Linked DNA regions of Homo sapiens: regions 2 and 3 are each linked to region 1. The links are contacts of gene promoters, found by promoter capture Hi-C in human tissues and cell types (Jung and others, 2019). All regions are on one chromosome and are shown on one strand. The core of a region is centred on a gene start or on the middle of the fragment in contact, and the rest is flanking DNA. Distances in the headings are between cores, read along the strand shown.

The links. Contacts are between HindIII fragments. The study calls those that stand out against the background at their distance.
Region 2: the fragment with the promoter of UBE2O here is called in contact with the fragment with the promoter of UNC13D in region 1 in 1 of the 25 tissues and cell types used here (psoas muscle).
Region 3: a fragment that was not itself captured here is called in contact with the fragment with the promoter of UNC13D in region 1 in 1 of the 25 tissues and cell types used here (hippocampus).

Annotation. Positions count from the first base shown.
Region 1 is chr17:75,843,154-75,847,186 of GRCh38, reverse strand. UNC13D (unc-13 homolog D) reads left to right here and starts at 2,783. Exons shown (of 32, transcript NM_199242.3): 1 at 2,783-2,966; 2 at 3,668-3,703; 3 at 3,921-4,028. The coding sequence starts at 2,850. It overlaps WBP2 (WW domain binding protein 2), which reads left to right. Exons shown (of 8, transcript NM_012478.4): 7 at 203-279; 8 at 400-1,488. The coding sequence ends at 453. RefSeq lists enhancers at 1,844-1,933, 2,064-2,143, 2,562-3,266 and silencers at 2,374-2,533, 2,544-2,603, 3,454-3,513. The HindIII fragment of the contact is 8,770 bases long and covers 1-3,841 here.
Region 2 is chr17:76,451,782-76,455,268 of GRCh38, reverse strand. It overlaps UBE2O (ubiquitin conjugating enzyme E2 O), which reads left to right and starts at 2,117. Exons shown (of 18, transcript NM_022066.4): 1 at 2,117-2,544. The coding sequence starts at 2,128. It also overlaps a transcript of AANAT not described here. RefSeq lists silencers at 1,943-2,111, 1,906-2,445, 2,566-2,765. The HindIII fragment of the contact is 12,276 bases long and covers 1-3,487 here.
Region 3 is chr17:76,705,114-76,708,590 of GRCh38, reverse strand. All of the region lies in intron 1 of MXRA7 (matrix remodeling associated 7), which reads left to right. Among named protein-coding and RNA genes, the nearest start is that of MXRA7, 4.1 kb to the left of the region's middle. The HindIII fragment of the contact is 4,690 bases long and covers 1-3,477 here.

The DNA of each region.
Region 1 (4,033 bases), core at 1,534-4,033:
TAGATGAGGTGAGACATGCGATGGGCCTGGAAAGGACCGTGCCAGCGCGTGGCATGTGCTCAGGAAACCTCACCTGCTGCTCTCATTGGTGGAACTGGACCCCCAGCACCAGCTGCCCCGAGCCATGGGGGCCCGGGGTCTCTTAGCTGAGCTCAGGGGGAGGAGAACTTGTCACCGACACCAGGTGTGTTTGCTCTCACAGCCGAAGCCAAGGCCGCAGAAGCAGCCGCCAGCGCCTATTACAACCCAGGCAATCCTCACAACGTCTACATGCCCACGGTGAGAGGGCTTGGCAGTGCCGGTGCAGCCCCACAGCCGCAGATGCTGGGAGCCGCAGGGGGATGACCGCACCATGTTTTAAACCTTCTAATGCAAGTCTCTCCTTTCTCCCTTCTTTAGAGCCAGCCGCCGCCACCTCCCTACTACCCACCGGAAGATAAGAAGACCCAGTAGGCCCTCCTGCCTCCCTGCCTCCCACCCTCATCTCTCTACCCTACCCCTCCCATCGGGGCTGTGCTGGGGCTTGGGGAGGGGAGGGGGCGCCTTGTTCTCCCTCCAGGTCTGATCATAAACAATTACCAGGAACTAGCATTGTGGGACATTAGGGCCCCCGGCCTCGGGAGAGGTGCCGCCCAGCTTCCCATGCCAGCCCGGAGCCCACAGTGCTGCCCAGCGTACCTCCCTCACCGTCTGGGGCTCTTCTGGGAGCACGGAGCATCCCCTGTTCCTGTTTCACTCTCAGCTTCTCCCCTCGAAGGGACTCTCTGGCCACCTCCTCCACCGCAGTCCAGCTCCCTCAGTCTGGCACCCACTGCTACACTCAGCCTCATGAGCCACTTCAGACCAGCCAGGTGTCTTCCCGGGCCCTGCCAGACCCTGCTCACATTCCCTCTGCTGGTCTGTGCTGGTCTCAGAAGGCCACCGCGCCCGCATTCCACTCAGCCAGGGTCCAGCTGCAGCCCCCGCCACCCTTCCTTCCCTTCCCTGTCCTGGGTCATGTTGTTGCCACCCTGTGTGACTTTTGAAGCTGTAAAATGAGCTTCCAGGGCTTGGGTGGCGTCGGGGCAGGGCCGCCGAGGCTGGGAGGAAGCCCTTCTGCCTTTTGCTGGTGTTTCTGGAATTTGCTTTCCCTCACCTCTCACTTCCTTCTAGAAGGAGCTTCCTGACTGGAACCAGAGAATGCATGTCTGTCCACTTGGTGGCTGCTGGGTGGGGCCGGGAACAAGGGCCCCTGACCCTGTGTGCTGGCCGGGACCTGCCACCAGCCCCCCAGCCTGCTTCTTCCCCTTAAGCTTTGTGCCCCTGGATGCGCTAACATTCACTCTTGTTTGTCCCTGGACTGGCCATGAAGTGAGGAGATGGTTATTTAAAGAGAATTCCCTATTTATTTGACAAAAAATCCAGTTAATATATTAATGTGAAATAAACCCTGTTTGCACCTCGATTTGTTTGCTGAAAATGTGAAATAGTAAAAATGAAATAACTGGACCCTTTCTGGCTCTGCGTGTGGTGACCCGGGGGTCTCTTCCGGAAGGAGAGCCGTCTGGCCGCTGAGGGCCCTGGAGACTTCTGGGACGGTTCCCTCCCATGGGAGGATCCCCATTCTCACGGCCCAGCCAGCCTGTCTGGTCCCCAAGACAGCTCTGGCCTCTGGAGCTGGTTCTTAACGGTTGTCGCTCAGCAGCTGTGTCCCTCCCCCACTGAGTCCCCAGGGCCTGGCTGGGACAGAGGTGGATGTGGCCCAGAGTTGGCCTTGAAGGGAGGAGTTGGGGCTGCCACCTTGTCCCCTGCTGGCTCCTCGAGGAATGGCAGCCCTGGCCTAAGTCCTGGTTGCTGGAGGGAGGAGGCCGAGTCAGCCCTGGAGCACGTCAGGACCTGTGACAGGGACACTGAGGTAGCCAAGCCGGCTTGCCACCACCCACGTCACGTGCCCTGCTGTGAACTTGAAGGGACAGGAGGGTGGGAAATGGCCAAAGGCCGTGACCAGGCCCACACGCCCGCAAGTCCCCCAGCCCAGCACTGGGCACAGGGTGGGCAGGCCACAGAGCTCTAGGAAAGCCCCATGCTGAGGCGCATTTTCCTGTCCCCCGGGAGCCAAGTCTGTCCTCAGGAGAGATCGGGCAGCAGCCCCTCTGCCTCCTCCTCCTGGCCAGCCTGGCCCAGAGCTCTCTGGGACTTGGCTAAGCCCCCTTCAAGGGTGTCTGAAGGGAGCACTGTCCTGACTGCCAAGGTGGGGGCAGGGGCACAGGGCTGTCCCTGCCCAGCACAGCTTGGCCCCGTCATCTCCAAGGAATGTCACCTGTGGGGCCAGGCAGGCTGAGCAACTGGCTGTCCTCCAGGGAGACGCCTCTTGGGAGCCCCCACCCTGGGCGCCACCACACCCCACCCCACCCCGCCCCGCCCCACGTCTGGACGCACTCGAGGAAGTGGGGTGAGAACCCCCCCGGGCCCAGGTCAGCTTCTCTCAGGGTTCAGCCCAGCCTGGGCACAGCACATGGATGGGGCAGGATGCTGCCCGCCTGTTCTGGGCCCCCCCGCCCCCTGCTGAGAGCGTTGTCCCCTTCCCAGGGCCTCTGTAGGAGGGTGGGGCGGGGCCAGGCCTGCCCACGGGGTCCACCTTCTGCTCCAGCCAGAGGAGGGTCCTGTAGGGATCCCAGCTGGGGAAGGTGCAGGGGGCCTGGGAGACTGCCTCTCCGAAGCGGTGAAACCCTCACCCTTCCGTCCCTCCCAGCCACCCTCCCTAAAACTTCCCCTGACAGAGGGTGGCAGCCCCAGGCTCTTTGCATAATCCTGTGGCTTCGCTGTCTTCACCCAGCACCAGCGGACAGGGAAGGGCAGAGAAGGCCACCATGGCGACACTCCTCTCCCATCCGCAGCAGCGCCCTCCCTTCTTGCGCCAGGCCATCAAGATAAGGCGCCGCAGAGTCAGAGATCTACAGGATCCCCCGCCCCAAATGGCCCCGGAGGTAGGAGTGACCTCACTGGGGAGAGAGCTGGCCTTGGGGAGCACTGTGGTCTCGGGTACGGGTGCCCTGCTGTCTGGCCCCACCTCTCGAAGGCTGGGACTGGGGACCAGCGACCCTCCCCTGCCTACTCCACCCTGGGGAGAGCCCCCTGGGCCAGCAGAGCAGGGGCTGCCAGATGGACTCTGGGCCACTGTGGGCCTCAGGCCCTGTGGTCTGAGGCTCTCAGAACCCCTCCCTCCCGGTTGGCCTGACCCCATCCCCTACTCCTCCAGCTTCAGAAGAGCCGACTCCATTAGGTGGGGGTGTCCCTGCTGTGGGGTGAGCTGTTCGGGGAGCAGCAGACCCCCAGGCCGACGTGGCACCCCCCTCACCTCCGCTGCCGAGCCTCACTTCCGCTGCTGGGTGAGGAGCAGCCGCCACTGATAAGCAGAGCTGTTTCCTCTGGGGAAGGGAGGGAGGTGGGGTGCGGGTGCGGAGGGCTCGCGCTGCTGGGCACCCATGGACCTCAGCCACGGCGGGCCCAGGGACGGACCTCCAGGAGGCCTGCTGGGGGAACAGGTGCGGGGCATCACTGGGGCTGGAGGCCGGGGTGCTGGGGCCCCCATACCCTTGGCCTGGATCAGGCCTCAGAGGAGCCATTCCTGTCCATCTGAGCCTGCTCTGGGCCTCCCGGGACACTGCCTTTCCACCTTGCTCTGCAGATCCAGCCTCCATCCCACCACTTCTCCCCCGAGCAGGTAAGAGTCAGAGTGCTGGGGTGCAGAGAGGTGGGGAGGGCGGCTGTGTGTCCTCCTGCCGGCCGACGCTGATGGCAGCAAGCAACTTGCGGTGGGGAGGGGACTCCTGGGTCTCAACTCCCTCCGCTGCACAAGCCGCCCTTGTCCTGCCCATGGCGAGAGGTGTTGGTGCCAGGGGTGGCTGGTGGGGTCCCCAAGGTGACCCCGTGTGTCTTAGCGGGCCCTGCTCTACGAGGACGCACTCTACACTGTCTTGCACCGCCTGGGTCATCCTGAGCCCAACCATGTGACGGAGGCCTCTGAGCTGCTGCGATACCTGCAGGAGGTGAG
Region 2 (3,487 bases), core at 868-3,367, 610 kb before region 1:
TGTTGGCCAGGCTAGTTTTGAACTCCTGACCTCAACTGATCCACCCACCTTGGCATCCCAAAGTGTTGGGATTTCAGGCGCAGTCAAAGTGTTGGGATTTCAGGCGTGAGCCACTGTGCCCGGCCTAGAGTTACTTTTTTTTGAGACGGAATCTCACTCTGTCGCCCAGGCTGGAGTGCAGCGGCGCGATCTAGGCTCACTACAACCTCCACTCCCCAGGTTCAAGTGATTCTCCTGCCTCAGCCTTCCGAGTAGCTGGGATTACAGGCGGCTGCCACCGCGCCCGGCTAATTTTTGTATTTTTAGTAGAGACAGGGTTTCACCATCTTGGCCAGGCTGGTCTTGAACTCCTGACCTCGGGTCTCCCACCCGCCTCGGTCTCCCAAAGTGCTGGGATTACAGGCAAGAGCCACCACATCCAGCCTTTTTTTTGTTTTTTGTTTTTTGAGACAGAGTCCTGCTCTGTTGCCAAGGCTGGAGTGTAGTGGCATGATCTCGGCTCACTGCAACTTCTGCCTCCCAGATTCAAGCAATTCTCCTGCCTCAGCCTCCCAAGTAGCTGGGACTACAGGTGCACACCACCACGCCCAGCTAATTTTTGTACTTTTAGTAGAGAAGGGATTTCGCCATGTTGGCCAGGGCGGTCTTGAACTCCTGACCTCAGGTGATCAGGTGATCCATCTGCTTCTGCCTCCCAAAGTGCTGGGATTACAGGCATGAGCCACCACGCCTGGCCCTAGAGTTACTTTTTATATTTTATTTATTTTTATTTATTTATTTTTTTGAGACAGAGTCTTGCTCTGTTGCCCAGGGTGGAGTGCAGTGGCGCGATCTGGGCTCACTGCAACCTCAGCCTCCCAGGTTCAAGCGATTTGCCTGCCTCAGCCTCCTGAGTAGCTGGGACTACAGCCATGTGCCACCACGCCCAGCTATTTTTTTTTTTTTTCCGTATTTTTAGTAGAGATGGGGTTTCGCCATGTTGGCCAGGATGGTCTCAATCTCTTGACCTCGTGATCCGCCCACCTCAGCCTCCCAAAGTACTGGGATGACAGGTGTGAGCTGCCGCGCCCGGCCTACTTTTTATATTTTAAAATGACAATATGGAGCAGACCATAACAGTTCTGCCAGTCTGGAATTTAGTCTAGGCAGGGAGTTTGGAAATAGTACAACAATGGTTAAGCTTATCGAAGGAGCTAAATGCCAGGCACTGTTCTACTTCACTTAATCCTCCAATTGCCCAATGAGATGAGTATTGCTATTATCATCCCTATTTCACAGATGAGCAAATTAAGATGAAAATAAGTTAATCAGTGTGCCTATTTTTATAGATTAGTAAGTGGCAGTGCCAAAAATTGGAATCCGTGGTCCCCACTCTTAGCTACCTTACTATACTACCTCTTGCCATTCATTCTTGGCTTCAGGGAGCTTTGAATTTATCTGCATGGATTTGTAGCCAAACCACTGGGACCACTGATCCTTTTGTTACCTTTCTCTGGGCCTCCTTCACCAGCTTCTGGGTCAACTTCTGAGGGGTCATGACGTTCGAACTGCTTGGAATTCCTGAATACAGTGCATTATACATATGCTCTACACGTATCTATTATAGCCTTACAAGTTGGAGTTGTTTGTTATCTATTTAATGTGTATTTGTTTTGTCTCCCCAACTAGACTGGAAACACCTAGAGGACAGGGACAGTATCTTTCTCTTTCTGCAATGCTCCCAGTGCCTGGGGGCTAGGCTAGGACGCCAAGGGAGCTCATTAAAAGTTGTTGACAGTCTCTCCACCATCCTGTGCCCCACCCCGACCACTCCCCTCTTCCTCGGTGGCCACTCCACTTCCTCCTCCCGGGTCCCCGCCCCTTCTCGCTCCCTTTAGTTGAATCCTCACTGGTCTCGCCCCTTCTTAGTGGATTCCATCCTGCCCCCGCCCCCCGCGGCATCTTCAGCGTCCCCTAGCGACGAGGCGGTGGCTCCTAGCAACTGCATCCCGGCTCCCTGACGACGGCGCCACGCAGGGACACGTCAGCGCGCTATGGCCCCGCCCCCGGCGCCCGCTGGTCCCGCCTCCCCGCGCCTCGTTCGCCGCCGCTGTCGCCGCCGCCGCCCGAGACTCGCGCAGAGCAGTTATGGCGGATCCCGCAGCCCCCACGCCCGCAGCTCCCGCTCCAGCCCAGGCCCCGGCTCCAGCCCCGGAGGCAGTCCCGGCCCCAGCCGCAGCCCCCGTCCCGGCGCCGGCGCCCGCCTCGGACTCGGCCTCCGGGCCGTCCTCGGACTCCGGCCCAGAAGCCGGCTCGCAGCGCCTGCTGTTTTCTCACGACCTGGTGTCGGGCCGTTACCGTGGCTCCGTGCACTTCGGGCTGGTGCGCCTCATCCACGGCGAGGACTCGGACTCGGAGGGCGAGGAGGAGGGCCGCGGGAGCTCGGGGTGCTCCGAGGCCGGGGGCGCGGGCCACGAGGAGGGCCGGGCCAGCCCCCTGCGCCGCGGCTACGTGCGCGTCCAGTGGTACCCGGAGGGCGTCAAGCAGCATGTGAAGGAGACCAAGGTGCGGCGGGCGGGGGCTGGGCGGCGCGGGCGGCAGGGGGTCGGCGGCCGGGCCGAGGCCAGGGAAGGACGGCGTGCAGGGCCCTGCCCGGAGCGGTGCCACTGCAGTGGCCGACGCGGGAGGACAGCCCCAGTGGAGGGTACACTCCATGCAAAGTCATTGCAGCAGCTCTGGGCGCACACGCCAGCCAGGCACTGCTGGCCCGGGACCGGGCGGGCCCTGGGCTTCCCGACTTGAGGGGACTTCTAAGACATGTTATGCTGTGGTGTCGGCCTCGAGATTTAGAGACGTGGACCGACTCCCGTGGGGACTCAGGTTCTGGGGCGCGTTCGGCGTTACACCAGTGCGGCGTTTTGCTGACCCCCAAGGAGCTCGGTACTGCATTGTGCATCCAGAAATGAAGGCCGTGCCGGGTCCGTGCAGGGAGGGGTTGTGGGCATTCCAAAACAAAGATAGAGGTGAAAATCCCAGCCGAACCCAAGAAGTTCACTAGCTTACAGGCTGCATTATGGTGAAGCCACCCAGCCTCTTTTTGTTTTACCCTGCTGCCTCCTTTTAATTGCTGCAGGGAACTTTGTGAGTAAAATCATTAGCAATCAGAGCCCCGGTATGAATAGTACTTGGGGGGGAGGATTCTGACAGCTGCGACCGGGATTGATGACTCCTAAGTGCATATGGACTCCTTGAAAAAAATAATCCAGAACCCTGGGTAGAGGGGAGTCACCAATTTGGAAACCCGAAGGTTTTTTCTTGACCTGAAGCTGTTAAGCAGACATCTGACTCCCGTATGGTTTTTGGGGTGATGCTAGTGAGTATAGCAGTTTTACAAAACAAAGAGGCTTGTCATCATAAACCCGAAACCTTGAACCCGGGTTGGTTTGGTGGCTTGTTTTCCAGAATGTGAATTCCTATCAGTAATTGACACACACACACACACACACAC
Region 3 (3,477 bases), core at 479-2,978, 860 kb before region 1:
AACAAATTGTCCTGAAGTGGACTCCAGCGTTTCCAAGAGCTTCCAGTGCTTTCTTCTGATGATCACACTGCTGGGGCTTGGAGGACAGATAGGGAGAAAGGCCCCCTGGGGAAGATAACTCAAATCAGGGTTGGGAAGTGGGGCTATGCCCTCTGCCAGCCTCCTTCTCCCTCCGTCCCTAAGCGAACCCCACCAACAGCGAGGGAGGAGGGCAACTCCACCTGCTGTTAGCTCGGAAGTCACTGCCCTGGGGAGCAGCGTGTAACTCACCTCTCCCCTCCCTCTTCATTTTCCATTAACTGCCTCCTTTCTAATCCAGTCCTCTCCCTTCCCAGGGAGGCCTGGGCGGGCTGGGGCAGCTGCTGCCTCTGACTACAAAGCTGATTATTGAGAAGGATCTCTCGCCCCGGGAAGCAGCCTTCAGCTGCTATTGGGGATCGCTCAGGAGCGTCCCCTAGTGCACGGTGCCCTCTTTGGCCAAGGACAAAGTAGTGGGGAGGGGCTACTATAGGCCGAGACCCTGGAAATGGACCAAAGAAATGGGGATGAGATCAGTGCAGCTCTTGCTTCCCCAGGGCAGCACAGGCCAGGGCAGGGAGGCTGAGGAGAAGCGGAATGATACTGCTAGAACCTCTTTTCTCTCCTAAGGATTAGCACAGGGTGGGCTGTGAGGAAGCATTATAGGCAAGGCCTGTTCACGCAAAGAATCATGAGCCAACGAAGTCAAGAACAGGAGCCGGCCTCTTTTCAGGCCAGGACTCAGGGCTTTCTTGGTGCTCCTGTGTAGGTTGGGGTTTTAGGATTGCCAGGCCTCTTACCTAATGGACTTGTGGATTGGAGCAAGGCTGGATGGTCGGATTCCCAAACATTGGTAATTGGCAAAGCGTCAAGGGTCATTTGAATAGCACTAGAGTTAAATTTCTTGTCTGTGCCAGGACTCAAGTATCTCGGTACTTGGGGCCTAGCTCTGCTCATAGACAGACTAGAGCCCGGGCGCGATGGCTCACACCTGTAATCCCAGCACTTTGGGAGGCCGAGGCAGGAGGATCACCTGAGGTCAGGAGTTCGAGACCAACCTGGCCAACATGGCGAAACCCCGTCTCTACTAAAAATACAGAAATTAGCCAGGCATGGTGGCGTGCACGTCATCCCATCTACTCAGGAAACTGAGGCAGGAGAATCACTTGAACCCAGGAGGCTGAGGTTGCAGTTGAGCCAAGATCGTGCCACTGCACTTCAGCCTGGGCAACAGAACGAGACTCCATCTCAAAAAAAAAAAAAAAAAAAAAAAAAAAAAAAGAGTAGGGACTTCCTGCAAGGCAGTGGGCCGGTGTCATGAAGCACACAGAGACTCTTCTAGATTTAATTGGGATTTAGGAGATTAAAGCAATATGACAAATAAATACAATCTTGATCCTTGATTGGATTCTCCATCAGAGAAGGGAGCTATAAAGGACATACTGGAGATAATTGAGACATTTTTTAAATGAATGGCTGTGTTAGGTAAGCTTATTGAATCAACGCTGAATTTTTTGTGTACGATACCGGCAGATGGCTGTGTAAACAATGTCCTTATCCTTAGGAAGATGCAGGCTGAAACATTTTGGGATGACATGTCATGATTCAAATAGTTACATGCACACACACACACAGTGTGTGTGTGTATAGAGAGAGAATGCAAAGATGGCAAAATGTTAACCATTGGTGAATCTAGGTGAAGGGTGTATGGTATTCATTGTATTATTATTTCAACTTTTCTGTAGGTTTGGAATTTTTCAAAAGAGAATGTTGGAACAAAGAAGCCAACATTCTTCTTTGGGAAATTTCTTGGGAAAGGGGTTGGTTTTTCAGACACTCTGGAGGTGGTGGTCTGAGTGGGTAGCACAGCCTTCATCTGTCTGTCTTAACCATGTGACTTGGCCCTGGTTCCCCTGAAGTCACCCTGCTGTCAGGTCCACCTGTGTCCTCTGCCCTCACCAACCTGTTCACCATAGGTGTGGGCTCTGGAAGCTACAGAGACCCCAGCCTTCCCAGAATGACCCAGGAGCAGGTGAACTTCCCCATCATCTCTCCTGCCTTTGTGATGGCAGTGTGGTCCTTTTTGATGGCAGTGTGGTCCTTTTTGATGGCAGTGTGGTCCTTTTTGATGGCAGTGTGGTCCTTTGTGATGGCAGTGTGGGCCTCTGTGACGGCAGCGTGGGCCTCTGTGACGGCAGCGTGGGCCTCTGTGATGGCAGAGTGGGCCTCTGTGATGGCAGCGTGGTCCTTTGTGATGGCAGCGTGGGCCTCTGTGACGGCAGCGTGGGCCTCTGTGACGGCAGCGTGGGCCTCTGTGATGGCAGAGTGGGCCTCTGTGACGGCAGAGTGGGCCTTTGTGATGGCAGCGTGGGCCTCTGTGATGGCAGCGTGGGCCTCTGTGACGGCAGCGTGGGCCTCTGTGACGGCAGTGTGGTCCTTTGTGATGGCAGCGTGGGCCTTTGTGATGGCAGCGTGGGCCTTTGTGATGGCAGTGTGGTCCTCTGTGATGGCAGTGTGGTCCTTTGTGATAGCAGAGTGGGCCTTCGTGATGGCAGTGTGGTCCTCTGTGATGGCAGTGTGGGCCTTTGTGATGGCAGTGTGGTCCTACTTTCTGTTCTCTTAGCAAAATCTCAGAAGCCAAGTAGTGGAGGGCCAAGTAGATATTTGCCAGTTGTTTATATCACTTTAGGTCCTTGTCTTTAAGCAGCTTAGGCTGATATATCAAAATACCACAGACTGGGTTGCTTAAACAACAGGCATTATTTCCTACACTTTTGGAGGCTGGGAAGTCCAAGATGGAGGTGTTGGCAGATTCTGGTTTTGGTGAGGGCTCTCTTTTTGGCCTGCAGACAGCCACCTTCTTGCTGTACTTTCACATGCCAGAGAGAGAGGGATGTCTCTTCCTCTTCTTATCAGGGCCCTCATAGCATTGTAGGGACTCCACCATCGTGACCTCGTCTAAATCTCACCTCCCAAAGACCCCCACCTCCAGATACCATCACACTGGGGGTTAAGACTTCAACAGATAGATTTGCAGGGGACACAAATATTTAGTCCAGAACAGGCCCAGTGACTTACTGGGGAAAAAACTAGAAATAATCCAAATGTTCATTAATTAGCACATTGGATTCATTAGCAAATTAGTATGAAATAAGTAAAAAGGTAGAACATAAAATATTGTATTCACAATAACTATAACGATATAGAGCAACTGAATAGAAGATGCCTTGGAGGGCTGTAAGTAGAGTTCCCTGTTCAGTAGTTCCAGTGGGTATTTTTTTGTAAAGTTGTTTGAGTGCCTAACTTAATTTTTTTCCATATATGAAAGAAGTCCAGGGGCTTTCCTAATAGATAAACTTTGTTCTTTCAGAGAGAAAGAGCCTTGGTTACAGACTAATGTCAGCTAGAATTTTCTGCTTAGCAAGAAGGAGTATGTTTTTAAAGAATATGTCTTGAGAA